6 separate regions of the Homo sapiens genome follow, and all the other regions are linked to region 2. Evidence: promoter capture Hi-C in human tissues and cell types (Jung and others, 2019). All regions are on one chromosome and are shown on one strand. Each heading gives the region's core, a stretch centred on a gene start or on the middle of the fragment in contact. The rest is flanking DNA. Distances are from core to core; before and after follow the strand shown. Region 1 has its middle 19 kb from the start of POP5. Region 2 holds the start of P2RX7 (purinergic receptor P2X 7). Region 3 has its middle 17 kb from the start of COX6A1. Region 4 overlaps RNF10 (ring finger protein 10). Region 5 has its middle 4.4 kb from the start of RNU4-1. Region 6 holds the start of COX6A1 (cytochrome c oxidase subunit 6A1).

Region 1 (4,132 bases), core at 306-2,805, 530 kb after region 2:
TTCCCCAGCCTGCCGTGTGCCCAAGGAGACTCAGCTGTTCAGACTCAACAGCCTTCCATATCCCCTGGCTTCTAATCTGGTTTGGGCAAGGAGGAGCCCCCGGGAGGAGACTGAAGGGAGAAGGTGGAGTGACTCAGGGTATTTATGCAACTGCTTCCTCCTGAAGGGCACCTCAGGCTGGTTAACAGAAGGTCACAGCTTCTCTTTTTTTTTTCTTTCTTTTTTTTTTTTTTTTTTAGACAGAGTCTTGCTCTGTCACCCAGGCTGGAGGGCAGTGGCGCAACCTTGGCTCATTGCAACCTCCACCTCCTAGGTTCAAGCGATTCTCCTGCCTCAGCCTCCTGAATAGCTGGGACTACAGGCACGTGCCACCACGCCTGGCTAATTTTGTATTTTCAGTAGAGACAGGGTTTCACCATGTTGGCCAGGCTGGTCTCGAACTCCTGATGTCGAGTGATCCACCTACCTCGGCCTCCCAGATTACAGGCATGAGCCACCTCATCTGGCCAACAGCTTCTCTTAAAGTGACCCTCTCCACATAACTTTCTGGCTAGTGGGAACTGCTCCTGCCATGCCTAAGGAGGTAACAGCCCTCCCATTGTAACCAGTCTCGGCACTGCACTGTCTCCTGCGATTTCTGTACACCCTGTCCACATCTAAATGATCCCTTTAGTCAGCCTTCCTTAAGTCACCCAGTTTGAGCTTGCCATCTGTTTCCCACTGGGACTGATGGCCACCCCAATTTAGGAGCCCCTATTTGGCCAGGCGTGGTGGCTCATGCCTGTAATCCCAGCACTTTTGAGAGGCTGAAGCAGGAGGATCCCTTGAGCCCAGGGGTTTGAGACCAGCCTGGGCAATAGAGCGAGACCTCATCTCTTTTTTTTTTTTTTTTTTTTTTTGAGACGGAGTTTCGTTCTTGTTGCCCAGGCTGGAGTGCAATGGCGCGATCTCAGCTCACTGCAACCTCCGCCTCCTGGGTTCAAGCAATTCTCCTGCCTCAGCCTCCCAAGTAGCTGGGATTACAGGCATGCGCCACCACGCCCAGCTAATTTTGTATTTTTTAGTAGCAACGGGGTTTCTCCATGTTGGTCAGGCTGGTCTCAAACTCCCGACCTCAAGTGATCCGCCCGCCTCGGCCTCCCAAAGTGCTGGGATTACAGGCGTGAGCCACCGCGCCCGGCCTTGAGACCTCATCTCTACAAAACATAAACAAAATTAGTTGGGCGTGGTGGCAACTGCCTGTAGTCTCATCTACTCTGGAGGCTGAAGTAAGAGGATCGATGGAGCCCAGGAGGTAGAGGCTGCAGTGAGCTAACAAAAAAAAAAAAAGGAGAACCCCTACTTTAGAGAAGGAAATGGAAATTCAAAGAGGAGCAAATGGGAAACCAACAGGGGCCACCTGGGGGTGTGCTCAGCAGCCAATAGGCACTAGTGGATGCTTGATAAATATCTGAATTAATGAGTGAATGAATGACTTGCTGTCACTGGGAAGGACCCACCTGCCCTTACCATAGGTGCTGGAACAGCAGGTCAGTATCTGAGCTACTTCAGCCCGACACTGGTGACCAGTTCCCTCGCCCAGCCCAGAGTCTTAAGCTTCAGGAAGTTTTGCATTGGAAGGATTAACACACAGCCCGGGACACCCAGGAAGCAGCCCCCAAGCTCAGTGAGAGACTCAAGAGTTATTTTTGAAAAGCAAGCAAGGCCTGCAGGCGGCCCTGGCAGAGGCAGAACGCAGAGCTGGAAAGAAGAGCCAGGAGCAGAGAGAGAACAGACAGCTACCACAGAACCCACGCCCCACGCCTGTGACGTGGGCCCCACGCACGGCGACATAACATGGTGGCAGAGGCGGGGAGGCGTCCTGTGACCCCTTGGGAATTTTATTTTAATTGTGGTAAAATATACATCACATAAAATGCATCCTTGGGAGTTTTTACTGCTCCCGCCCCAGGCTGAATGACATTGAGGACTGGGTTCCCACAGGAACAGGGAGTGGGAACACCAGCCAAACCCATTTGCATCCAAATGGTGTGTGAGCTTTTGCTCAAGTCTGGGAAAATCCTGGAACTGGAGGGAGGGTCATTGCTCTGAGGCAAAGTTGGGGTCTGAGGATTAGGACACAGGTGACAAAATTAACATTAGCGGTGCATGGTGGCACATGCCTATAGTCCCAGCTACTCGGGAGGCTGAGGCAGGAGAATCGCTTGAACCTGGGGGGTGGCAGTTGCAGTGAGCAGAGATCGCGCCACTGCACTCCAGCCTGAGCAACAGAGCGAGACTCCGTCTCAAAAAATAAAAAATTAAAATGGTAATTAAAAAAAGAAACAGTTAACAGCCTCTATCCCTGCAAAATAGTGGGGTGGCAGGAGTGGCTGTGGGGTCCGGGAGGAGGGGAGCAGGTGCTGGCCCTCGAGGTAGGGCGGGGAACTGCGGGCACGGAAAGCAGCAGCCGAGCAGCAGAATGCGGCTAATGAGCCGTGCAGGTGAAGGGAGAGGTGTCTGCAACGGGGTGGAGGTCACAGGCAGCCAGAGGGAGCCATCAAGGCCCCAAAATAACTCCTGCTTCTGCAGGAGAAACTGGAACTAATCAAGGTGGGAATAATCCGAAAATCCCTCAGAGAGGGACTGCTAAGAGGCCTTGTGTTTCCAAGCAGGGATTAGAGGGGAAGAAAATAAACAAAAGATGGAGTTTGTCCTGGAAAACGGTGCCAACATGAAAGCAAGTTCTTCCTAGGGCCTTGGTCAGAGGGCCACCAGTAGCTAATATCCATTGAGCGCCTACTATTGTATGCCTGATGCATTCATATGGCTAAGCATGTGAGCTCTGAAGTCGGCCTGCCTGGATTGGAATTCCTGCTCTACTTCCTGCTAGCTGTGTGACCTCCGAAGAGTTATTTCCCCATTCTGAGCCTCAGTTTCCTTATCTGGAAAATGGGGATAAAATTCATACCTGCCCCGCAGGGTAGTTGAGGATAAGTGCTCGATACATGTGAACTTTTATTATAATAGAAATATTTCCAGGGGCTCATTTCCTGGGATTGCCGGTGGCTCATACCTGTAATCCCGGCACTTTGGGAGGCCGAGGTGAGTGGATCACCTGAGATCAGGAGTTGGAGACCAGCCTGGCCAACATGGCAAAACCCCATCTCTACTAAAAATACAAAAATCAGCCAGGTGTGGTCTCAGGTGCCGGTAGTCCCAGCTACTTGGGAGGCTGAGACATAAGAATTGCTTGTACCCGGGAGACGGAGGTTGCAGTGAGCTGAGATTCACTGTGACTCCAGCCTGGGTGACAGAGACTGTCTCAAGAAACAAAACAAAACAAAACAAAACAAATCTTTCCAGCAATGCTGGAGGAAGAGGGTTAGGTTTTGTCTCCTCTTTCTGCAGGGTAGTGAACCAAGGCTCAGAGAGCCCAAGGTCACATGGCTAATAAGTGAAAGTGTCAGGATGGTGACTCATGTGAGTCTAAGTCAGGAGCATGTGAATTCACTAGCCCGGGCCACCCTGCTCGCTCCTCAGTGGGCAGGGAGGAGGGCAGTGGCCCACAGGCAGGGCGCAGCCCCTCACCCACCGCCTCTCTCTGGGCCCCATGCTGGGAGCAGATACAGCATGCACGTGGGAAACAGTCTCCGGGTGAGACATGTACAGTGGAGAGGGACGAGCACTGCCCTTGAGCATGGAAACTTGGCTGAGTTCTTTCCTCTCTCTGGGCCTCAGTTTCCCCAGTTGCAGAACAAGTGGTGGTAACAGGTGACTCGAGTCCTGGAGAGTCTAGATTCTTGCTCCCTGGTTCTCTGGTGAGTATCCGGTGCAGGCAGCAGTGAAACGAGGACAAGAGAGGAACCTGGGCCACTGCCAGGTGATCTCCCCTTTGTCACTTCCCTCCCTTCTCCTGGTGAATAGTTCCAGGCAGAGGGAACAGCAAAAGCAAAGGTCGGGAAATGAGAGTGAGCATGGCACGTTTGGGGAGCTACAAGTAGAAGAATCCAGTCACCCGGTTTATTCATTTATTCAATTAGTTAATCAACATTTAGTAACCTGGTTTACTCATTTGATTATTCAACCAGCATTTATCACTGTGTGCCAGGCAGTGTTGGAGTACTGGGGATACAGCGGTGAACAAAACAGA
Region 2 (3,660 bases), core at 701-3,200:
AATTGCCTTCATCATCATTATCAATCAGCACAGAGAATAAGAGGCACTCACCATCAGGGAAATTCAAATCACAACCACAATGAACTACCACTTCACACCCACTAGCATGGCTATAATAAAAAAGACAGACAATCAGCCGGGCGTGGCGGCTCATGCCTGTAATCCCAGCACTTTGGGAGGCCAAGGTGGGCGGATCACTTGAGGTCAGGAGTTTGAGACCAGCCTGGCCTACATGGCGAAACCTCATCTCTACTAAAAATACAAAAATTAGTGAGGAGTGGTGACGCACACCTGTAATCCCAGCTACTCATGAGGCTGAGGCAGGAGAATCGCTTGAACCGGGGAGGTGGAGGTTGCAGTGAGCCAAGATTGCGCCACTGCACTCCAGCCTGGGCAACAGAGCAAGACTTCATCTCAAAGACAAAAACAAAATGACAACAACAAAACCCAAAAAGACAGACGATAACAAGCGTTGGTGAGGATGTGGAGAAATTGGATCCCTCATACTCTGCTGATAGGAATGTAAAAAACTGCAGCTGCTGTGAAATTCAGCTCCACATTCCCCCCAAAGGTGAAACATAGTTAACATATGACCTAGCAATTTTTACTCTTAGGTACATATTCGAGAGAAAGGAGAATATATATCCACATAAAACCTTGTACACAAATGTTCATGTGGCATTATTCATGATAGCCAAAAAAGAGAAACAACCCCAATGTCCATCAATGGATGAATGGATAGAAAAAAGTGGTCTATCCATGCAATGGAGTACTACTCAGCCGTAAAAAGGAATGAAGTATCAGCCGGGTGCAATGGCTCACGCCTGTAATCCTGACACTTTGGGAGGCCGAGGCAGGCAGATCACTTGAGTCCAGGAGTTTGAGACCAGCCTGGACAAAATAGTGAGACCCCGTCTCTTTAAAAAAAAAAATTGAATGAAGTATCAACACATGCTACAACATGGATGAGCATTGAAAACACGCTAAGTGCCACAAAGGACCACATATTATGTGATTCCATTTATATGAAATGTCCAGAATCGGCAAATCCATAGAGGCAGAAAGGAAATTGATGGGTGGGAAGGAGGAGGAACAGTGTTGGAAATGATGGTGAAGGAGTGTGGGATTCCTTTTGAGTCGATTAAAATATTCTAAAATTGATTGTGGGGATGGTTGCACAACTCTGGGAATAATCTGAAAATCATTAAATGGTACCCTTTAAATGGGTCAATTGTATGGTGTATAAATTATATCTCAGTAAGTTTCTTTTAGAAGAAACAAAAACCAAAAAGCAGGGCCTTCCTGACGTTGGTGAGGACCTAAAGTTATAACACATTTTCAAGCCTGGTCCTATTCCTCCCAAGCATGGTGACTCAGATGCCAGCATGATCACCAGGCGTGCCCTGAGATCCTCGCCTCCTCCCTGGGGATCCAGGGTGTTGCCCTGCGCTTTCCTACCTTCCCCAGGCACGCCCTGCCCTGCGCGCCCTGGCGGGCCTGAAGTAGAGCAGAAAGGAATCCCGCTTGTCCTGTGGCTTCTCTCTGCTGCAGCCTGGCACCGTTTCCTCTTGCCTGCTGCTGCTTCCTCCCTCCCGCCCAGCTGGCTGTGAGAGCACGTCTCAGATTCGAAAACCATGTGAGATTCAGAATGTGCACCTGAAGCTGCCCGCTGGGGCTTTCTGTGCTGTCGGCCACTGCAGAGATCTGGGTCCTCCCCAGATCCCACTTACCAAACGTAGGAAAAGATGATCACGTGGAAGAACCACTTAATGGTGCCATAATTCATGCTCTGGATCCGAGTGACTTTGTTCGTCTCATACTGGAAAACATCACTGCAGCTGCAGCAGGCCGGCATGGTGACAGCCTCCCTCCCTGCGCGGAGCTGGACCAGAGCTCTACTCTTCCTGACAGGGCCACAGCAAGCCCCCTCCCAGTAACTGCAAAATGAAACGTACTGGTTTTTAGCAGGAGTCTTTAACTTCAAGCTCCTCCAATGACTGCAGAGTTGGGGCGGGCCCTGGCAGTGGCCCCACATGTGGCTGTGATAAACAAGAAGCGCCAAGTCCTACGGGCCTGGCTGGCAGATGACCTCACCCCAGCTGGCCTCCCCCAGATGCCTACACAAAGATGGTGTTCAGAGGATGGGCATTTTTAGAATTCTCCCTTTTCCCCCCTTTCCTTTCACTTTTTTGGTCTCATGTCTCTTGGGAGAAAGGGGCAGCCTTGCAAATGTCACAAGACTGGGAGCTTCCATTATGCCTCAGAAAAGGACTGAGATCTTTCCATTGCCTGAAGCCCCACTCAGAGATTGATTCATTCATTTCTACAACCCTTTATTCAGCCCCTGATGTATAGGAGCTCTGGGTAAATGAAGATCTCCCCCTCTTCTTCCACCGCCCCTTATAATACTCTGGTCTGCAGTTGGTGGGGGAAATCAGATTTGCAGGGGTAGGGGTGGTGGGGGTGGAGGGGCTTTATTTTTCTGCCAGATCTTTCATGCTTGACCCTCTGAGTTACTCTCCACCCTCCTCTGCACCCCGGCAGGTCGATCTATGACCTAGACCAATCAGCCAAAGATCACCAGGGACACAGTGGCAGTCCAACAAAGTTAGGTTTGTTGACCTATTCAGTGAGGGACACCACCCACCAGAAGAGCTACGCACATCACCAAACAAAGGAAAACAGCAATTTATTATAGGATTCCGAGGAAAGTGGAGTTGAGATAAAATCTAAATGAAGTCATGTTTTGATGGACTCAAAGCAAAACAGGTTTGTACAAAGCAGTCAACTTCAGTCTGGATTGCAAAGAGGACCCAGGGCCCTGTTTCCTAGGAAGCAACATAGCTAAGATACATGTCAAATGTGTCCAGAAAATCTTTATCTGAAGCTCTGCTCCTGAGTTGTAAATTGAGGCTGCTTCTCTGTGTCAAGATGACTTAAATCTTCCAGGCAAAATTGGAATATTTCAGTCTTAGTCATGTAATTTCAAACAGCAAAGTTTCTGAAGGTCTCTGATTTTAAAGGACAATGTTTCAGCAGTCACTCAAAGATGCAGGGTTGTATTATCACTTTACAGCTACAGAGAATTATTGTTCCCTGTTATCTTTACAGCTGGCTTGATCCCTTTCTGTTATTCCAGCCTGCTAAGTGGCCGGGTAGATTTTCAGTTTTTCAGTCTAAACTAATTGTACTTTCTCACACATACAAACTGCATCAGGGTTCCCCTCACCTTCTGGCTTCCAGTTCAGGAGACTGGAGAGCAGTGAGGATGGACGTGACTCCCTGGCCCTGCCCTTCTCAGTTGCATATAGGCAGGGCTTCTGGGCACCACTCCCTCCTTTAGTCCTGGGAGTGGTAAGGGCTCCCCACTCTTACCAGCCCCAGGAAGCTCACTATCTCCTATTGCTTTTTCTTAACTCTGTCCACACCTTTGTAAATGGTTCCATCATTAGTTACCCCACTTGAGTATGCCATTGCTTTCCTGCCGGGAATCTGAGTGATACGGTCATCTTCATCTGTAAAAAGAGGAGATTCACAGGTAAAGCCTGATGCTTAGAACATAGGCTCTAGGGGACTAATGGCCTGGCTTCCGATCCTGGCTTCACATCTTACCAGCTCTGTGACCCTGGACAGCTCTGTTTATGCTATTCATTCACTCAT
Region 3 (3,672 bases), core at 1-2,500, 710 kb after region 2:
GAGATGATAATAACCATGGCTGCGTCACAGGGCTGTAAAGAGATTACATGAGATAAAGCTTTTAGCACAGTGCCTGACCCAGAGCCAATATCCCAAAACTTCTGGATCCTATTATTATTACTATTATCATTATTACAACTATTAACACCAGGGCTGGAAGGGATCTCAGATCCTCAAATTCAGGGGCTCCCTACATAGGGTTCAGTGGATCACCCCCTCCCAAGGGATCCACAGTAGGGGTTCAGGAGGGTGGTCTGTGTGCATCTGGAAATAGAGTACAATATTGTGTCTGCTCATTTTCCTAAGGATGAGAAACTTAGCTGTCAACAAGTAAAAAATGGGGAAACTGAGTCCAGAGAGGGCGAAGGGGTCTTGCTCCAAGTTTCTCCCTTTATTCATTCATTTATTCATTCACTTTTTGTTTTTTTTTTGGTTGTTGTTGGTTTTTTTTTTTTTTTTTTTTTTTTTTGAGACAGAGTCTCGCTCTGTCTCCCAGGCTGGAGTGCAGTCGCGCGATCTCGGCTCACTGCAAGCTCCACCTCCTGGGTTCATGCCATTCTCCTGCCTCAACCTCGCGAGTAGCTGGGACTACAGGCACCCGCCACAATACCTGGCTAATTTTTTTTTGTATTTTTAGTAGAGACGGGGTTTCACCATGTTAACCAGGATGGTCTTGATCTCCTGACCTCGCGATCTGCCCACCTCAGCCTCCTAAAGTGCTAGGATTACAGGCGTGAGCCACCGTGTTGTTGTTGAGATGGAGTTTCGCTCTTGTTGCCCAGGCTGGAGTGCAATGGTGACATCTCAGCTCACTGCAACCTCTGCCTCCTGGATTCAAGCGATTGTCCTGCCTTAGCCTCCCGAGTAGCTGGGATTACAGGCATGCACCATCACGCCCTGCTAATTTTGTGTTTTTAGTAGAGACGGGGTTTCACTATCTTGGCCAGGCTGGTCTTGAACTCCTGACTTCGTGATCCACCCGCCTTGGCCTCCCAAAGTGCTGAGATTACAGGCGTGAGCCACTGTGCCTGGCCTCCTTCACTTCTTATTTCTTCAACCCAGCACCAAATCTTTCCCCAGGGCCTACATTGGCCCAGGATCACAGATGAACCAGACATGGTCAACTTCTTAGTCTCTACTCCTTACCTCCTTCCCCCGCCCCAGGGGATCTTCCTCCACAAAAGGTAGAGTTTAGTGTTTTCATTATAGTTCCTTTGTCAACACCATGCCCTGGGGCTAATTAGGCACTTCATCAAGTAACTCTAAATTCTTGCCCCAGTTGAATGCCTTACTTACCTCTACTTGGAACCTTCATTTCTCCTCTCTGAGCCTCAGTTTCCCAACCTATAGAAAGGGGGTAATAAAAGCCTTCTGCCTGGGGTTGCAAGAATTAAATAAAATAGAATTGAAAGTGCTTTATAAGCTGCAAAGTGTGGTGCCGATATTAGTATTATGGTCTGGAGAGAGAAGAAATCAAAATTGATAAATAATTGAGAACTGCACAATCTCCTCTCTCTCTCTCTCTCTCTTTTTTTTTTTTTTTCTGGACGGAGTCCCGCTCTGTTGCCCAGGCTGGAGTGCAGTGGCACGATCTTGGCTCACTGCTACCTCCGCCTCCTGGGTTCAAGCAATTCTCCTGTCTTAGCCTCTCAAGTAGCTGGGATTACAGGTGCCCGCCACCATAACCGGCTAATTTTTGTATTTTTTAGTAAAGACGGAGTTTCACCATGTTGGACAGGCTGGTCTTGAACTCCTGACTTTAGGTGATCCGCCCGCCTCAGCCTCCCAAAGTGCTGGGATTACAGGCATGAGTCACGGCTCCCAGTAGTTTATTTTTTGAGACAGAGTCTCACTGTGTTGCCCAGGCTGGAGAGCAGTGGCAGATCTTGGCTCACTGCAACCTCCGCCTCCCAGGTTCAAGCAATTCTCCTGTCTCAGCATCCCGAGTAGCTGGGATTACAGGCACCCGCCACCATGCCCGGCCAAGTTTTGTATTTTTAGTAGAGATGAGGTTTCACTATGTTGGCCAGGCTGGTCTCAAACTCCTGACCTCAGGTGATGCACCCACCTCAGCCTCCCAAAGTGCTGGGATTACAGGCAGGAACCACCGCACCTGGCTTCTTTTCTTTTTAATTAAGCTTTATTGGCCAGGCATGGTGGCTCATGCCTGTAATCCTAGCACTTTGGGAGGCCAAGGCAGGAGGATTGCTTGAGCCCGGGAGGTCAAGATCAGCCTGGGCAACATAGTGAGACCCACGTCTCTACAAAAAATACAAAAGTTAGCCAGGCATGGTGGTGCACACCTGTAGTCTCAGCTACTCGGAAGGTGGAGGCAGGAGGATCACAGGAGCTCAGGAGGTCAATGCTGAATAAGCCATGATTGCGTCACTGCACTCCAGCCTGGACAACAGAGTGAGACCCTGTCTTTTTTTTTTTTTTTTTTTTTTGAGACGGAGTCTCGCTCTGTTGCCGAGGCTTGAGTGCAGTGGCGCGATCTCGGCTCACTGCAAGCTCCGCCTTCCGGGTTCACACCATTCTCCTGCCTCAGCCTCCCGAGTAGCTGGGACTACAGGCGCCCGCCACCACGCCTGACTAATTTTGTTTTTGTATTTTTAGTAGAGATGGGGTTTCACCGTGTTAGCCAGGATGGTCTCCATCTCCTGACCTTGGGATCCGCCCACCTCAGTCTCCCAAAGTACTGGGATTACAGGCGTGAGCCACCATGCCCAGCCGAGACCCTGTCTTAATAAACAAACAAGCAAACAAAAACTTTATTTTTTGGAGCAGTTTTAGGTTCACAGCAATATTAAGCAGAAGGTACAGAGATTTCCTATATATCTCTCTCCTCTCCAGACACAGGCACAGCTTCCCCCATTATCAACGTACCCTACATGAGTGGTGTTTTGTTTGTTTGTTTGTTTTTGAGGCAGAGTTCTGCTCCTGTTGCCCAGGCTGGAGTGCAGTGGCGTGATCTCGGCTCACCGCAACCTCCGACTCCCGGGTTTAAGCGCTTCTCCTGCCTCAGCCTCACAAGTAGCTGGGACTACAGGCACGTGCCACCACACTCAGCTAATTTTTATATTTTTTCTTTTTTTGTTTTTTGAGACAGAGTTTCGCTCTTGTCTCCCAGGCTAGAGTGCAACGGTGCGATCTCAGCTCCCTGAAACCTCTGCCTCCCAGGTTCAAGCAATTCTCCTGCCTCAGCCTCCCGAGTAGCTGGGATTACAGGCACTTGAACTTCTGACCTCAGGTGATCCACCTGCCTCGACCTCCTAAAGTGCTGGGATTATACGCATGAGCCACCGCGCCCAGCCTGTATTTTTAGTAGAGACAGAGTTTCACCATTTTGGCCAGGATGGTCTCTATCTTCTGACCTCATGATCCGCCCTCCTTGGCCTCTCAGAGTGTTGGGATTACAGGCGTGAGCCACCGCACCCAGCTTGTATTTTTAGTAGAGACGGGGTTTCACCATTTTGGCCAGGATGGTCTCTATCTTCTGATGTCATGATGCGCCCGCCTCGGCCTCTCAAAATGTTGGGATTACAGGCGTGAGCCACCGCGCCCAGCTATGGCTCACTCTTGATGCTGCACATTCTGTGGGTTTGGACAGATGTATAATGATATGTACCAACTAACTTTTTGGAGTCTTTCCAAAGCATTCAACTGCATTCA
Region 4 (3,955 bases), core at 235-2,734, 590 kb after region 2:
AAGATTGCACCACTGCACTCCAGCCTGGGAGACACAGTGAGACTCCATCTCAAAAAAAAAAAGAAAAAGATAAACCAGGCACAGTGGTTCAAGAGTTCAAGGATCTCTTAAGCCAAGGAGTTCAAGGTTTCAGTCAGTTATGTTTGCACCACTGCATGCCAGCCTAAGTGACAGAGCGAGAGCTTGTCTCTAAAAAAAAAAAAGCCAGGCACGATGGCTCATGCTTGTAATCCCAGCACTTTGGGAGGCCAAGGCAGGTGGATCACGAAGTCAGGAGATAGAGACCATCCTGGCTAACATGGTGAAACCCCATCTCTACTAAAAATACAAAAAATTAGCCAGGCTTGGTGGCGGGCGCCTGTAGTCCCAGCTGCTCGGGAGGCTGAGGCAGGAGAATGGCGTGAACCCGGGAGGCGGGGCTAGCAGTGAGCGGAGATCGTGCCACTGCATTCCAGTCTGGGCGACAGAGTGAGACTCCGTCTCAAAAAAAAAAAAAAAGGAAAACTCAGGGGATGCAGAACCCCAGCTAACTCAGCCACATTCTCTTGCTTTGCTTTCCTTAACTCCATTTCACATCACCTCAAGCAAAGGAGATTCTACGAGGATAGGTATATAAAGAAAACACATATCCTCCAACCTCATTATCCAAGACTGTTTCAGATGATCCTGGACCCTACCTGTTTGACCCTAACTGCTGCTTTCAAGATGCACCTCACGGTTTGCATAGATTTAGGTAAAGCCAGATTCTACATGGCAAGGGCTTATTAAGAAAGTAAAATGGCCAGACACGGTGGCTCATGCCTATAATCCCAATGCTTTGGGAGGCCGAGGCGGGCGGATCACCTGAGGTCGGGAGTTCGAGACCAGCCTGACCAACATGGAGAAACCCCGTCTCTACTAAAAATACAAAAAATTAGCTGGGCATGGTGGCGCATGCCTGTAATCCCAGCTACTCCGGGGGCTGAGGCAGGAGAATAGCTTGAACCCGGGAGGTGGAGGTTGCGGCAAGGCCGAGACTGCACCACTACACTCCAGCCTGGGCAACAAGAGCAAAACTCTGTCTCAAAAAAAAAAAAAAAAAGAAAGTAAACTGGCACTCAGCAAGAAGGCTGTCTTCATTTCTTCACTTATTACCACACTGGCAAGGAAACAGTTTCATAATGCTTACAGAAATGCTCACTGATAAGACAGTAAACTGCTCATTTCCAAAACACATAACAACTGACCACATCATGATTAGTGATTTTAGTTGCCAAAATCAACTCGTTTCTCGTCTTCCAGTTACCTAAGGGTATGAAGACAGATATGTCAAGTGAGAGACTGGCTCTTATCTCTAGACCCAGGCAAAAGGCAGCTAAAGGTTGAAGGTACCATCAGGCCTGGGACCCAGAGATAAAATTCAGAGTATTATTTTTGAAATGTTTTGTGGACAACTTGCCAGGATATACATGGGAAAAACTCGAGGGTAGAACAGGAGTGATAAGATGATCCACTTTAGATTTTGGAAAACAAAAAATATCAAGTTCCTGGGAGAAGGAACTATGGGTGAAGTTTTAAATCTCAGAGTGGTGGTTCTCAATCCTGGCTGCACACCAGAATCACTTGCACAGACTTTTTAAATTATGAATGCCCAGGACCCACGGGTTCAATCTAGGCTTAAAGAATCAGAAAAAGGCCAGGCACAGTGGCTTATGCCTGTAACCCCAGCACTTTGGGAGGCTAAGGTGGGAGGATCATTTGAAGCCAGGAATTTGAGACCAGCCTGGGCAACATGGTGAGACCCCCATCTCTACAAAAAAAAAAAAGATAATAAATTCCTAGGAAGGGGCCCCACACACCCCTATTTTTTTTTTTTTTAAGTTCCTCATGAGGTCAGGAGTTTGAGACCAGCCTGGCCAACATGGCGAAACCCATCTCTACTAAAAATACAAAAATTAGGCCGGTGTGGTGGTGGACACCTGCAATCCAGCTACTCAGGAGGCTGAGGCAGAAGAATTGCTTAAACCGGGAAGGCAGAGGTTAAAGTGAGCTGAGATCGCGCCACTGAACTCCAGCCTGGGTGACAGAGCAAGACTGTCTTGAGGGAAAAAAAAAAGTTCCTGAGGAGATTCTGATGCACAGCCACCACTGAGAACAACTGCCAAGAACTACTGTCAAGACACATTCCAAAATGGACAAGACCACTAAACTCAGGCTCCAGAGTCGACAAATAAATGACTTAAAAACTTAACCCAGCTTCTCAGTTGTTCCACATTTCCCTAATGGAAAGGTCTCCACCAAGTAGCAGTAGGTATATCTCAGCCTCCCCCCATTACCAAATTAAGGGCCACAAGTTTTTCACAGTTAAATTACTTGGCATCTTCATTTCTAGCTCTAGTTCTAACAGGTGGCTCGGCCTAGAGGTCAGAATACCAGTCAGCAAGTTTCTGCTGCTGATTCATGCTGTAATCACAAGCAAGTTGCTTACCCATCATCCAGAGTAGTTGACAAGCACCTCCAGAGGGGCAACATATGGCCTTACTACAGAATCAACTGACAACAAATTGAATCCAGCTGAAATTAGTAATTCTGAATGAAAGGAAGAGAGAGGTGGTATCAGGAATGATGCACATGCCAGTAAGTTATCTGCTTGCTAAGTGTGATTATACAAAGCTTATTGAAAAATACCGCCTAGGACTTCATAAAAATTTACTTGGACAAATCACTCTTAACACTGCTAAGCCTCTATTTTCTTTTCTGTGAAACAGGACTAATATTCTACCATACTTCCTCATAGAATCATGAGGATTAAGAAAGAAAACTTCTGTAAAATGCCTACCATAGTGGCTGACACACAGTTTTACTATGATTTGAAAGCCTATCATTAATAAATCCAAAGCGTTCCTGTCAAGAGCACCCACTAGACTTCCAATGAAGCCATATAAACCAAGGAATCCAGCCAACGGGCCCTGAAATTCTTTTAATTTCTCTAAGTGGTTTTACTGAAGGCTTCAAATCACCTCAATTTTCAAAGCCATTAAAATCTCCAGGTCCATTTACAGCTCAGAGGCATTCTTCAAGGCAGATTACCACTAGTAACCTGGTTTCTGGTACCAGAATAACAGGAAGAATGCCAGGGCAGTGCTTCATACCACCAACCTCAAAATAACTGCCTCATAATACCTGACCTTCCCTTAACCTCCCTGGCAGTTCTATCGGCCCAGGGGGATGGGACAAGAGCCTGGTTCCTGGCCAGAGTCCACTGCCTGCCCATAAACGGCCTACCTTCTCTCTTGCCTCTCTTTCTTTGCTCCCTCTAAATGACTTTCCCCACTTTCTAACCCACCTTCTCTCCTCTGAGCTATATTCACAGGATATTTACTGCTGCATGTTCTCAGAAATACCTATTAACACTACTGGAATGAAGCTGTAGGAATATAATCAAGAAAAGGAATGTTATATAAATGTTCAGGCAATTAGCCCAGGCAAAGAAACTGTGGTATGCGACTCTAGCCGGAAAGATCAAGAAAATCCTGGTAGCCAAATTTACATATTTCCTGTGTACAAATGAAGGGCAAATTTAAGCCAGCCACTGGAACAAAATCTCAAAGAAATTAATCATGTAGCTAGGAAGCAAATGGCCATTAATGACAGTTTACAGAATAGAAACCAAAGGGCTTTCTTCCACGAGGTAGAAAAGGGGGAGAAAAAAAGTGACTTAAATATTTGAATACTGAAAACTCTTGCTCTTTTCACCTTGACAAAAGATAAACTATCTTTTCACCTTACGCTTGTTTTCCCCTCAACTCAGTACTCTGTAATTCAAGAGGTCCTTTCAATGATTCCCAGCAGAATCAAGTATATGAAGTGTTCAGCTTATGAGATACTGCAGAAATCTTTTTATGGGATTATGCGGAGCTTGAGTGTACCCTTTTGTTAGAGCAACCATCTCATCGTGAAGTCACTGCATCAGAGC
Region 5 (4,037 bases), core at 1,304-3,803, 840 kb after region 2:
GGAACTGCTCCCACACTATAGCCCTCGGTCTGTAATCCTCAGTAAGACTTGTAAGTAAAACTAACTTTAATTTTTTTTTTTTTTTTTTGAGAGAGTCTAGCTCTGTTGCCCAGGCTGGAGTGCAGTGGCGCGATCTTCACTCACTGAAGCCTCTGCCTTCCCGGCTGAAGTGATTCTGCTGCCTCGGCCTCCGGAGTAGCTAGGATTACAGGCGCTCGCCACTGCGCCCGGCTAATTTTTGTATTTTTAGTAGAGATGGGGTTTCGTCATGTTGGCCAGGCTGGTTTTGAACTCGTGACCTCAGGTGACCCACCTGCCTCAGTCTCCTAAAATGCTAGGATTACAGGAGTGAGCCACTGCACCCCGCCACTTTTATTATTATTATTATTGTATTTATTTATTTATTTATTTATTTTTGAGACGGAGTCTCGCTCTGTCGCCCAGGCTGGAGTGTAGTGGAGAGATCTCGGCCCACTACAAGCTCCGCCTCCCGGGTTCACGCGATTCTCCTGCCTCAGCCTCCGGACTACAGGCGCCCGCCACCACACCCGGCTAATTTTTTGTATTTTTTTTTTAGTAGAGACGGGGTTTCACCGTGTTAGCCAGGATGGTCTCTATCTCTTGACCTCGTGATCCGCCCGCCTCAGCCTCCCAAAGTACTGGGATTACAGGCGTGAGCCACCGCGCCCGGCTATTTATTTATTTATTTATTTATTTATTTATTTATTTTTTGAGACGGAATATTGCTCTGTGCCCAGGCTGGAGTGCAGTGGCACGATCTCAGATCACTGCAACCTCCGCCTCCCGGGTTCAAGTGATTCTCCTGCCTCAGCCTCCCGAGTAGCTGGGATTACGGGTGCCCGCCACCATGCCCGGCTAATTTTTGTATTTTTAGTAGAGACGGGGTTTCACCATGCTTGTCAGCATGGTCTCGAACTCCTGACCTCGCGATCCGCCCGCCTCAGCCTCCCAAAGTGCTGGAATTACAGGCATGAGCCACTGCGCCCTGCCACTTTAATTATTTAAAAGCTTATTTTTTTATTTTGGGGACATGGTCTCACTCTTTCACCCAGGCGGGAGTTCAGAGGCACGATCACTGCGCACTACAGCCTCAACCTCTTGGACTCAAACCATCCTCCCACCTCAGCCTCCTGAGTAGCTGGGACTACAGGTGGGCCACCAAGCCCAGCTAATTTTTGTATTTTTTTGTAGAGACGGGGTTTCACCATGTTGCCCAGGCTGGTCTCGAACTCCTGGGCTCTAGGCTTTCCAAAGTGTTGTGATTACGGGCGTGAGCTACTGCGCCTGGCCGATTCTTTTTAACTTAGTACACAGGGAGTAGTAGCTCCAGCAACAGCGAAAGTCAGTAGCTGTAGGATCTACTAGGCGGGGAAACTCATATGACAGCCCCCTCCTTTTTTTTTTTTTTTTTTTTTTTTTTGAGATGGAGTTTCACTCTTGTTGACCAGGCTGGAGTGCAATGGCGCCATCTTGGCTCACCGCAACCTCCGCCTCCCGGGTTCAAGTGATTCTCCTGCCTCAGCCTCCCCAGTATCTGGGATTACAGGTGTGAGCCACTGCGCCCGGCCACCCCCTTTTTTTTTCAAGGCTGCAGTGAGCCATGATCCTGTGACTGCACTCCAGCCACTGACAGCCCTTTCTGCATTAGTTAACCTGACCACATCTGCTGAAAGAAAGCACCAGAAGCTAGACTGAAATTTTCGTTGTCAAAAAAATTATAATCCCCCCCAAAATTTAAAAATTATAATCCAGCACATTTTCTGCACACATTTTCTGGGTATTTGATCATAACTTTTAAAAATGTGAGAACAGTGACATTCTCCTTCCCCATTCACCAATTTTACTATGAAAAAGTTCAAACCTAGGTTATTTTTTCAGTTCTCCAAGTGGAATGATCATCACTAATAGAGATTGGTTGGGAATTCTATTGTGCTTCTAGGCCCCCAAAAATCTCATGCTCTGAGGAAAAGTTAGCTGAGTTTTCAATTTTTCTCATAGTGCTGGAAAATCATCCCTGGACGGTGAAGTCATCCAAGTCTTTTTTGTTTTGTTTTGTTTTTTCTTTCTTTCTTTCTTTCTTTTTTAATTTTTGTATGCTTTGTTTCTATTTCTTTTTTTTTTTGTCATCCAAGTCAGCTGGTGAAACACACAATTTCACTTGATAGCTACTGAGAGAGTGTAATGGGCCACCCATTCTAGAATTCTCAAGGGCTAGGAAGTTCCTTTGATACCCTCATGGGATTAGGATTAGGGCTTTAGTCTTTTTCTCTCTCTCTTTTTTTTTTTTTTTTTTTTTTTTTGATTACAGGCGTGAGCCACCACACCAAGCCCCATTATTTATTTATTTTATTTTATGTATGTATGTATGTATGTATGTATGTATTTATTTATTTTGAGACGGAGTCTCGCTCTATCGCCCAGGCTGGAGTGCAGTGGCGCAATCTAGGCTCACTGCAACCTCCGCCTACCGGGTTCAAGTGATTCTCCTATGTCAGCCTCCCAAGTAGCTGGGATTATAGGCGCCCGCCACCATGCCCAGCTAATTTTTGTATTTTTAGTAGAGACGAGGTTTCACCATCTTGGCCAGGCTGGTCTTGAACTCCTGACCTTGTGATCCACCCGCCTCGGCCTCCCAAAGTGCTGGGATTACAGGCGTGAGCCACCGTGCCTGGCCTAGTGTTTTTCTCACAACTCCACCCCATCCAGAATTAATGACTAAATCCTTGACTGGATGATCAAAGTAAAAGAATCTAAATTCACCACATTGCTAGTCTTTTCTTTTTATCCAGGCTGTGAATTAAATAAGAAATCTGCTGCAGTGGCTCATGCCTGTAATCCCTCCCCTTGGGGAGGCCGAGGCGGGCGGATCACTTGAGCCCAGGAGCTGGAGACCAGCATGGGCAACATGGTGAAACCCTGTATCTACAAAAAATACAGAAAAATTAGCTGGGCATGGTGGTGTGTGCCTGTAGTCCCAGCTACCTGGGAGGCTGAGGTGGGAAGATCGCTTGAGCCCAGGAGATTTAGGCTGCACTGAGCCGTGATTGCACCCCTGCGCTCCAACCTAAGCGACTGAGAACATGTCTCAAAAAAAAAAAAACAAAAAAAAAAACACAAAACAAGTTAGAAATAATCACATAACACATCAGCATCAAACAGGCCTTTTAAAATGTCGTTTTTGACCATCCTGGCTAACACGGTGAAACCCCATCTCTACTAAAAATAGAAAAAATTAGCCGGCCGTGGTGGCGGGCGCCTGTAGTCCCAGCTACTCGGGAGGCTGAGGCAGGAGAATGGCGTGAACCCGGAAGGCGGAGCTCGCAGTGAGCCGAGATTGCGCCACTGCACTCCAGCCTGGGCGACAGAGCGAGACTCCGTCTCAAAAAAAAAAAATGTCATTTTTGTATATGGATGATGAGTACATGAATGTTCACTGAGGAATTCTTTGAACTTTTCGTGTTTACAATTTTTTATGATAAAATGTTGGGGGAAATGTTACTTTCTTTTTTTTTTTTTTTTTTTTTTTTTTTGAGACGGAGTCTCGCTTTGTCACCCAGGCTGGATTACAGTGGCATGATCTCAGCTCATGGCAACCTCTACCTCCCAGGTTCAAGCGATCCTCCTGCCTCAGCCCCCCTAGTAGCTGGGATTACAGGCAAGCGCCACCACGCCCCGTTAATTTTTGTATTTTGTATTTTTGTAATTTTGTATTTTTGTATTTTGTATTTACAGGGATGTCGCCATGTTACCAGGCTGATCTTGAACTCCTGACCTCAGGTGATCCACCTGCCTTGGCCTCCCAAAGCGTTGGGATTACACGCTCGAGCCACCACACCTAGACCAGATGTAGGTTTCTAATAGCTTTCTACATCCTGAAGGAAAACAGGCAGTGAGGGTGAAAGTTGCTTCAAATTTTAGAAACTGTGAACATTCTGTGGAAATAAATCCTTATTATTTGAGCCTCTTTTTGAATTAAGGTGTCCAAACCCTTTTGAATTAACATATGATCCAGCAAT
Region 6 (3,965 bases), core at 1,466-3,965, 690 kb after region 2:
CAATTTCTTTTCAACTTGGACACTGACTTGAAGCTCAAATGCTAATTTCTGCGAAAAAACACAACCAAAGAAAGTAACTCTCAGCTCATGACCAATCTAAATTTAAGTTATTTATTTAAGCCATCTCCTGCCACAAGCAAAGGGATGGGAGACCAGTATACCAGTCATCATTTGATACAAGTAAAGAAGGTGAGCTTAAGGTCCCATATACTTTTTCTGGTCCATGTGCAGAGTAACGGTCCAAACCAGTGCTGTGGTCCCTGGTGCCCGGGTAGTGGTCCAGATTCTCTTTATTCATCTTCGTAGCCAGTTGGAAGTGGATTCACATGAGGGTTATGGAATAGAGTATGGTTACCATCTCCCCAGGGAAACGGCTGTGGAGTGAAGATGTCAGTTAGATAATTCCAGAAAATAATTTAGAAAGAACACCGTCATGAACTGCTTATAACGGGGTGACAGATCATATATAAAAACAAAATGGAAATTAGTCCTTTATCTACTGGTGTAGTTCAACCTTCCCATTATTTAAGGAGCTCTTATAACTACCAGGGGAGCCCTTAAAGTTATCCTGGCTACAGGACAGTTTTAATTCCAGAAACAAATATGGATGGCAGAAAATGCAAGCTCAAGTTAGTTACTCATCATCCTCTCCCTAGTAACTAGTATATCCAGTGCTGTGTTTATGAAAGTGTAATCCTCAAATCACCTATATCAAAATGGTGGCAGTATTAGGGGAGGGAGATGCTTAATTAAATGCAGATTTCTGGCACCATCCCAGACTTCAAACAATATCTGGGCTGGGAAACTGCAGCCCACCCTGAATTATCTTGCCTATTACCTTTGAAAAGCATTACTTTAGGGCAACGGTCTCCAACCCAGGGTGATTTTGCCCCTTCAGGGCACACTGGGTAGTATCGGGAGACACTGTGATGGGGGCGGGGGAGGGGGAAGCGGGAGTGGGGTTGCGCAGGTACTACTGCCACCTAGTGGGTACAGGCCAAGGATATGGCTAAACATTTCACAATGCACAAGATAGCCCCCCAACAAGAATTACCCAGCCCCAAATGTCAACAGTGCTGAGGCTGAGAAACCTTTACTGTTTGGCTTCTAATTGCATTGTACAAGGATGGGAGTGCCGCTCAAAGACTCAACAAATTCAAGAGTCTAGGTTAAGTTTCTACAAGGCCAGTCCTATATGGGCTAGGTGATGTAATAATAATAATAATAATAATAACTTTTTTCATCACTTCTCGGCCTTTTGGCTAAGATCAAGTATATTATTACTATTTTTTTTTGAGACGGAGTTTCACTCCTGTTGCCCAGGCTGCAGTGCAATGGCTGGATCTTGGCTCACTGCAACCTCCTCCTCCTGGGTTCAACCTCCTAGATTCTCCCACCGCAGCCTCCCGAGTAGCTGGGATTACAGGCGCCCGCCACCACGCCCGGCTACTTTTTGTACTTTTAGTAGAGATAGTGTTTCGCCATGTTGACGAGGCTGGTCTTGAACTCCTGACCTCCGGCGATCCACCCACCTTGGCCTCCCAAAGTGCTGGGATTACAGGCGTGAGCCACCGCGCATGGCCAGTATTGAAGAATCAGAATAAGCCCTTGTTAAAGATACAGCAAACAACAGAGGACACAACATTGTAATATATCTACATCAACAACCAATGATAAAACAGTCGAGAAAAGGTATTGGTGGGGAATAGAGAAAGCTGTCAGTCTCTTCATTATGCAACTAGTAGCTGCCAGATGCCCATGTTTTGTTGTTGCTGTTTTGTTTTGTTTTGAGACCAGAGTCTCGCTCTGTTGCCCAGGCCGGAGTGCAGTGGCACGATCTCAGCTCCCTGCAAACTCCGCCTCCTAGGTTCAAGGGATTCTCCTGCTTCAGCCTCCCATGTAGCTGCTGGGTTCGCTTACGCGAACCACCTTCAGACTTTGCCACTCTAATTGGATTTCCCAAACCTCCAGGCTTTACACAACGGACACCTGTTTCAGAACTGTCTCAGAAGTAAAAAAAAAAAAAAAAAAAAAAAAAAGAACTGTCTCAGAAGGCAGGAGGTAGGATGAATCGGAGAAAAGGGAAACTGAAGAGCACTTATTGTATGACCTTGAAGAAGAGAATTGAGACGTAATCCCAAGTGTCAGCTGTCCATCCACAAAATGGAAGAAAATACATTTTCTGTTTGTGAGGATAAACAAGCTGTACACGCCTGGCACCCATGCCTTCAGAGAATGAAGAACTTGCACTAAGGCACACATAACGAAAAGAGAACGGACGCTTGAAGAGATGTACAAGGGCGTACCTTGGTCCTGATGCGGAGATGGGGGTAGGCGATGAACTCGGGTCTCTCGTGCTCTCCGTGGTGCGACTTCAGGTACACATTCAGCATGCTGACTGCCACCCCGGGGAGCGCGACGAAGAAGGTGAGAGTCTTCCACATGCGAGCTGCGGAGAAGCCACAAACGTTCAGCGCCGGTATGGGGCGGGCCCGGGTCTCACTTTCCCTCCCGCAAGGCCTCGGGCCAAGGTCACAGTCCCTCCCTGTCTCGCCCGAGTGGGGCTGAGGCTCGACCCGTCGACCCCGGCCCCAGTACCTGAGCCCTCTTCGCCATGGGCGCCACTCGACATAGGCCGCCCCAGCTGTGGGCGGGACCGACCCAGCAGCCGAGAAACCGAGGACACACCAACTACCGCCATTTTTGATCTGGACTGCCGCAGCGCCGGAAGCGGAAGTGGAAAATTGGCTCTGGGGGCGGTACTACAACCTCCAAAGGAAGTTACTATTGGGCGCCGCCCTCCCACTGGCATTAACCTGAGCACTATCATCCGGGACGACGGAGTCCTTGTCAAAATCCTCGGCATCTCGGGCAAGAGAGAGCATGCGCTCTGCACCTCCCTTCAGGCTTTACCGTTTCCTTCGTGCGCATGCGTGTGCCCTCCGGTCTCCCTACCGTCCCCACCTGGGCGAGGCGGAAGCTCAAGAGAGGTTTGTGCAGGGTGCCCTGGTACCTGGAATCGCTCCCTTCGTTGGAGTCCATGGACGGGCATCTGGAGGTTCTGATCCCAGACCGCCCTATCTAAAATTCCGTTCCCCTTCCTCGCCATCCTCCGACTGCGTTTTCTCATAGCACATAACATTGCACCTTCGTCGTTATATTATTATTTTGTCTGTCTCCCCCACTAGAATATAAAGTCTGTGATACCAAGAGTTTGGCACTGCAGCATTCTCAGAATAATCTGGGAATGGTGTAATTTGGAATCATACCTGGCACATACCAGATACTTGATATAAATTTGCTGAATGAATGGATGAATGAATGAATAGCAACAGAAAGTATAAAGAGCACTGAAATTGGTGCCAGCAGACCTGGATCCTAATCCTGACTCAACAGTCTCATCTTTTTTTTTTTTTTTTTTTTTTTTTTTTTTGAGACGGAGTTTGACTCTTGTTGCTTAGGCTGGAGTGCAGCGGTGCAATCTTGGCTCACTGCAACCTCTGCATCCCAGGTTCAAGCAGTTCTACTGCCTCAGCCTCCTGAATAGCTGGGATTACAGGCACGCACCACCATGCCTGGCTAATTTTTTTTTTTGTACTTTGGTAGAGACAGGGTTTCACCATATTGGCCAGGATGGTCTCCATCTCCTGACCTTGTGATCCGCCTTCCTCGGCCTCCCAAAGTGCTGGGATTACAGGCGTGAGCCACTGTGCCCGGCCTTTTTTTTTTTTTTTTTTTTTTTTTTCAATAGGCCCCTTTGAGAATGTAATGAGGACCAGCGTGGTGGCTCATGGCTGTAATCCCAACACTTTGAGAGGCCGAGGCGGACAGATTGCTTGAGCTTGAGAGTTTGAGACCAGCCTGGGCAACAAAGCTTTTTTCTTTATTAGAAAAAAAAAGAATCTAATGAAAGCTTTGAACCCTTTCCTCTAAAGACACACCTATGTGTAAACACACAGTATAGC

Evidence for each region. Contacts are between HindIII fragments. The study calls those that stand out against the background at their distance.
Region 1: a fragment that was not itself captured here is called in contact with the fragment with the promoter of P2RX7 in region 2 in 1 of the 25 tissues and cell types used here (thymus).
Region 3: a contact is called between a fragment that was not itself captured here and the fragment with the promoter of P2RX7 in region 2, in 2 of the 25 tissues and cell types used here (lymphoblastoid cells and spleen).
Region 4: a contact is called between a fragment that was not itself captured here and the fragment with the promoter of P2RX7 in region 2, in 2 of the 25 tissues and cell types used here (dorsolateral prefrontal cortex and hippocampus).
Region 5: a fragment that was not itself captured here is called in contact with the fragment with the promoter of P2RX7 in region 2 in 1 of the 25 tissues and cell types used here (bladder).
Region 6: a contact is called between the fragment with the promoter of COX6A1 here and the fragment with the promoter of P2RX7 in region 2, in 2 of the 25 tissues and cell types used here (aorta and mesenchymal stem cells).

What each region holds. Positions count from the first base shown.
Region 1 is chr12:120,598,658-120,602,789 of GRCh38, reverse strand. No RefSeq gene overlaps it. Among named protein-coding and RNA genes, the nearest start is that of POP5, 19 kb to the right of the region's middle. The HindIII fragment of the contact is 9,311 bases long and covers 1-4,132 here.
Region 2 is chr12:121,131,166-121,134,825 of GRCh38, reverse strand. It overlaps P2RX7 (purinergic receptor P2X 7), which reads right to left and starts at 1,950. Exons shown (of 13, transcript NM_002562.6): 1 at 1,731-1,950. The coding sequence starts at 1,855. The region is part of intron 2 of LOC105370032 (a long non-coding RNA gene); the gene reads left to right. The HindIII fragment of the contact is 21,026 bases long and covers 1-3,660 here.
Region 3 is chr12:120,419,398-120,423,069 of GRCh38, reverse strand. No RefSeq gene overlaps it. Among named protein-coding and RNA genes, the nearest start is that of COX6A1, 17 kb to the left of the region's middle. The HindIII fragment of the contact is 4,053 bases long and covers 1-3,276 here.
Region 4 is chr12:120,537,981-120,541,935 of GRCh38, reverse strand. All of the region lies in intron 1 of RNF10 (ring finger protein 10), which reads right to left. Among named protein-coding and RNA genes, the nearest start is that of RNF10, 5.6 kb to the right of the region's middle. The HindIII fragment of the contact is 6,302 bases long and covers 1-3,955 here.
Region 5 is chr12:120,295,601-120,299,637 of GRCh38, reverse strand. It overlaps a transcript of SIRT4 not described here. Among named protein-coding and RNA genes, the nearest start is that of RNU4-1, 4.4 kb to the right of the region's middle. The HindIII fragment of the contact is 8,404 bases long and covers 1-4,037 here.
Region 6 is chr12:120,436,863-120,440,827 of GRCh38, reverse strand. COX6A1 (cytochrome c oxidase subunit 6A1) reads right to left here and starts at 2,715. Exons shown (of 3, transcript NM_004373.4): 1 at 2,599-2,715; 2 at 2,307-2,449; 3 at 98-374. The coding sequence starts at 2,701. The coding sequence ends at 291. It also overlaps the pseudogene LOC124903126. RefSeq lists enhancers at 2,021-2,542, 2,469-2,678. The HindIII fragment of the contact is 17,604 bases long and covers 1-3,965 here.